Linked DNA regions of Homo sapiens: region 2 is linked to region 1. Evidence: promoter capture Hi-C in human tissues and cell types (Jung and others, 2019). All regions are on one chromosome and are shown on one strand. Each heading gives the region's core, a stretch centred on a gene start or on the middle of the fragment in contact. The rest is flanking DNA. Distances are from core to core; before and after follow the strand shown.

Region 1 (2,700 bases), core at 7-2,506:
AGTACATAAGCGTGACTCTGAGAAGTTTTATCTACAGTCAGCTATACGTTTGTCAATGTGAAGAGGTGGTTTTCAAAAAGGAAATTCTAATAAGTTAACTGATTAGATAAATTCACTTACTCTTTTAGGTTACCTATGATTCTAGGTAAAGGTGTTATTCTCCCATAATTAACCAAGTTGTGTTCAAGACTAAACATCCCTCCAGAGATGGTTGTGAATGGTCTATAGGTGGCTTTCATTAATTCAACTCTCAAAAGGCATTATTTGGCAATTACAGCATCCAGGCTCTGAAGACAGTGTCCAATTAATAAACATTACAGCATTGATATTTTCTTGCTGTCAGGTAGTTCTCAAGTTGCCTTAGAAATAGGGGTCACCTCTGAGGACAGAGAGAAGAGAAGGGCAAAGAGTTAGGGCAGTGCTTTAGGTCTTTAGTGTTTATTTCTTTACCCAGAGAAGTACAGGAAAAATATAACAAAAATGTTATCATTGTAAAATCTAAATGGTGAACATTTCAATGTTCGCCATAGTACTTACAGCATTTTTAGTACATTTATATTTTGTAATTTAAATTTTTGGGGTTTTTTTTGCCTCCCAAGTAGCTGGGATTAAGGCACCTGCCGCCACGCCCGGCTAATTTTTGTATTTTTTAGTAGAGACAGGGTTTCACCACGTTGGCCAGGCTGGTCTTGAACTCCTGACCTCAGATGATCCACCCGCCGCGGCCTCCCAAACTGCTGGGATTACAGGCGTGAGCCACCGTGCCCAGTCAATTTAAATGTTTTTAATTTCACAACTTACATTCTAGCTTCAAAAATATATTTTACATTATTACGAACCACTCACCAAGATTTTATGGCCAGATACCCAAATTCATCTCAGTCTCCAAGTGCAAATTTTAAAACTAATTTCTTCCATCATTCAATTCAAGCAGAATGGTAGAGTAGTATTTTAGAACAGATAGAACTAGTAAATCCCAGCTCTGTGAACATACTTTCTCTGTTACCTTGGCCAAGTTATTTGCTAAAGGCATTTGCTTCCCATCCTGTATCTGTAAAATGGGTATTTCCTATTGCAAAAGGTAGATAAGTAGCATGTGCTTGGTGGGTTAGTGTTTTTCCCTCTCCAGCTGGAAAAAAAAAACCTGGTGTGGGGGAAGAAGGGGAACAGTTTGTGCAACAGAACCCTAAGAGGAAATCAGCTGCTCATCAAGATAAGGGCTGAGGCATAAAACTGCCAGAGGGTCTCAAGGCAGGCAAAGAAGAACCATGAGGCTCATCCTGCCTGTGGGTTTGATTGCTACCACTCTTGCAATTGCTCCTGTCCGCTTTGACAGGTAAATCTTACTTCCTGTGTTCCAGTCTCTGTGTAGAAGAGAATTAAAGGTTGTTTCCTTACAGTTCACTTTTTTTTTTTCATTTGCCTCCACAAAGGGAGAAGGTGTTCCGCGTGAAGCCCCAGGATGAAAAACAAGCAGACATCATAAAGGACTTGGCCAAAACCAATGAGGTAAGCATTTAGAGGGATATTTTATCTTTTCTTACTGTTCTCTAAAAGATGCTTCTTCTTATTTTACTGTCAATGCCCATGGGACTACAAAAGACTATTGAACATAAGGGGAAAGCAGGAGCTATCTGGATAATTCAGCCAATGGCCAATACTTCACCTGTTCTGGTTTTGGTCTTGGTTTCCAAGACTACCACTTCTGTTTTTCCTCCCAAAAGCTTTTCAAACACCAGCTTTTTCAAGGTAAAACTATGAAATCAGGAGCTGTTCTTGGCCTCCTTATCAGGGCATCTTTCTCTTGCCTACGGGTGCCATTCCCTCTCCATTCTCCCCACTCCGACCCTCATCTCCTCTGGTGCCATAATTTCTCTTGAGTACTAACTGAAAACGTTGAGGCACTGGCTAATATCAAGATGTGACCCTTTCCAAGAGCAGGTACATTTTCAAATAAGACTTTTAAAGTTAGATCAATCCTTTAAAATCCAACAGCCTAATATAATTTTATCATGTATTCAGCTGCTCCTATTTATGTTGCACCAGCCACCTTATATATGCCATTTCAAATTCTCCAGCAGATTCTCAATGTCAGGGTTATAATGTAACTCATTTGAAACAGAAGAGCTAAAGTGCAAAGACAATAAATTAAATGACCAAGATTACACATCAAATTTAAACCCAGAACTGGGTCTGGGATTTATTCCAGTCAAACATACAGTTACCTCTACATCAAATCAATCAAAGGCCCTGCCTATTCTAACTCCCAAATGTTTCTCAAATCCACACATTGCCCTCCATTCCACTGCCACTGCCAAGTTCATGTTCACTCTACCTCTTGCAAGGAGAATTTCCATAGTCCCTTAACTAGCAATCAGGGCTCTAGTCTTGACTCCCACAAAGCCAACTCTGCATTGCAACCTGATTGCTCACTCTAAAACTTGACAATTGCATTCCTCCGTTTGAGGGTCATTACTAAGAAGCAGCCTAGTACGGAAAAAGCATTTTCTTCAAAGTCAAACGCTTACATTCAAATCCAAGCTCTACGCTAGCTCTGTAGCCTTAGGCAACTTACTCAACATCTCTGGGTCTCAATTTCTTCTGCTATAAAATGGGGATAATAGTCATAGCTACTTCCTAGGGTTGCTACAAAGACTAAGTAAGCGTTTGATAGCACTTAGAAGCAGGCCTGCCATATTA
Region 2 (2,700 bases), core at 129-2,628, 510 kb before region 1:
CAGCTTTAGGCTGCCTTGATTAATGCAACCTTCTGTGATTTATCACCCAGAATATTTTTAAACAGGTGCTCTCTCTTCATTGTAATAGACTGGAGTTTTTCAGAAGTGACAACACAGGCTTGTTTTATTTATTTGTTTTGTGAAATTCAATGAGAATGCATTACAAGCAAAAATACCCAGTCATTTTGTAGAGACCTGAGGTTAGTGTAGTTAGTTTTGTAGAGGCCTGGGGTTAGAGGGTTAGTTGATGTCAGCCTGTCATGATTTCTACCTGACTTTCTTGACCCTTTAAAAAGAAATTGCTGCTTTTTAAAATGTTACTCCCTACCTCCGGACACCTAACACACAGTATACTGTCTTGGATCCCAAATCTTCCTATCCTTGGAGAATCTCGAAACTAGCTGCCTAGTATATAAGAATCAAATATAGCATACCAAAAAGCCTTGACAGAAAAATCACACACACACACACACACACACACACACACACACGCATGCAACATTGGCCATACTTGATGAGAACTTTTAAACTATGGCAAAATATGTTAGAAATCTAAAGTTAACTGTTCTGCAAGTGGTATACAGCCATGCACACCAATTTTACAATTTTAGCATTTAGAGTAGTCTGGACCCAGCTGGAGTAACAAATTCTTTTCACTACTTTATAGTTGTGCCAAACATATTTCTATAGGGCAGCAGTACATCACAGTGGATCAGAAAGTAGTCCCTGAGTGTCAACATCCTGGAATGTAAACCTGGCCTCACCATTTATTAGCTGTATGATCTTGGAAAAATTAATTAACCTCTCTGTGCCCAAATCGTCTCATTTGTGAAGTGGAGTTGATAACTACCTACTTCACAGGACTATTCTGAGGATTAAATCAAATAAAATATGTGGAAAGCTTTGCTATTTTAATTTAAAAAAAAAACACTATTTAACCTATCAAGGGACTACAGATTGTCTTAAGAGCACCTTCTATTTTCCTAAAATCAATTAAAGATCAGCTTACTTTGGTTCTTATCTATTTATTAAAACACATGAGATGGACAATACTTACCAGTACTTTGATGAACCCACAAACTGGGAGTAAATAAAATTTTTATTTTCAAACATCTGGTCTGTTTAACCCAGGCTGCTGTCTCATTAGGTTTCTCACTATGAAAGAGTAAGTTTAGAATGGGCTGGAAATTCACTATTTGAAAAATCTATATACCTCAACTTATGTTTCCTTCCAGGAAACAGAAAAAAAAAAGAGAGAGAGACAGAGAGTAAAGATAATGGGTGAGTAACACATGAAGCAAAATCTAAGACTTTCAGAAAGCCCTGTGAGCTAAGCAAAGATGAAATTATTTTCTGGTTGTGAGGAAAGAATGTGAGTGCTTAAAGGCTCAAGTTGCCCACAAATTCCTGGGATAGTGTGCAATCTACTTTGCTTAATTCTGTAGAACTGTTATTCCCAAACCCAGCAGCATGTCAGAATCTTTCTGAAGAGGGTCTTTAAAAAGTACAGCTTCTTGAACTCTGTCCAGGCCAACAGAATCAGTATCTCCAAGGATATAGCCCTGAAATACATGTTTTTAAAAAGTTTTTATAGTAGTTCTTATACACAACTATATTTGATAATCAAGAACCAGAGATTTTTTTTATTATACTTTAAGTTCTAGGGTACATGTGCATAACGTGCAGGTTTGTTACATATGTATACATGTGCCATGTTGGTGTGCTGCACCCATTAACTCGTCATTTGCATTAGGTATATCTCCTAATGCTATCCCTCCCCATTCCCCCCACCCCATGACAGGCCTCAGTGTGTGATGTTCCCCATCCTATGTCCAAGTGTTCTCATTGTTCAATTCTCACCTATGAGTGAGAACATGCGGTGTTTGGTTTTCTGTCCTTGCGATAGTTTGCTCAGAATGATGTTTCCAGCTTCATCCATGTCCCTACAAAGGACATGAACTCATCCTTTTTTATGGATGCATAGTATTCCATGGTGTATATATGCCACATTTTCTTAATCCAGTCTATCATTGATGGACATTTGGGTTGGTTCCAAGCCTTTGCTATTGTGAATAGCAAATAAACATATGTGTGCATGTGTCTTTATAGCAGCATGATTTATAATCCTTTGGGTATATACCCAGTAATGGGATGACTGGGCCAAATGGTATTTCTATTTCTAGATCCTTGAGGAATCACCACACTGTCTTCCACAATGGTTGAACTAGTTTACAGTCCCACCAACAGTGTAAAAGTAAGAACCAGAGATTTTTTAAATAAACTTTTGTTTTTACATTGGAATAAGTTTGGATGACACTACCGAGTTCTCGTATACCTTGACTCATTTGCCCCTAATGTTAATATTTCATATAATAATCATGGCACATATGTCAAAACCAGAAAATTAACACTGGCAAATTACTAATGTCTTTTTCATATTCCTGAATCCAATACAGGATGCTGTAACAACACTTTTAATCATCATGCCTCCTTAGTCTCCTCTGACCTGTGGCAGTTTCTCAGGTTTTCAAAACTTTGAGAACTTTGAAGCATGTCTTCAATGTAGAATTTCCTCTTTTTCAGACTGAGGTTGTGGGTTTTGGAAGTGAGTACCATAGAGGCAAAGTGCCCTTCTCTTGCATACTATTAGAGAGTACATGATACCAACATAACATCACTGGTGGTATTAGCCTCCATCAT

Evidence for each region. The method cuts DNA at HindIII sites, captures the fragments that hold promoters and counts their contacts. A contact is called where the count stands out against the background at its distance.
Region 2: a fragment that was not itself captured here is called in contact with the fragment with the promoter of CPA3 in region 1 in 1 of the 25 tissues and cell types used here (mesendoderm cells).

What each region holds. Positions count from the first base shown.
Region 1 is chr3:148,864,040-148,866,739 of GRCh38, forward strand. It overlaps CPA3 (carboxypeptidase A3), which reads left to right and starts at 1,257. Exons shown (of 11, transcript NM_001870.4): 1 at 1,257-1,336; 2 at 1,434-1,509. The coding sequence starts at 1,269. The HindIII fragment of the contact is 8,383 bases long and covers 1-2,700 here.
Region 2 is chr3:148,358,897-148,361,596 of GRCh38, forward strand. All of the region lies in intron 3 of LINC02046 (long intergenic non-protein coding RNA 2046), which reads left to right. Among named protein-coding and RNA genes, the nearest start is that of LINC02046, 79 kb to the left of the region's middle. The HindIII fragment of the contact is 6,456 bases long and covers 1-2,700 here.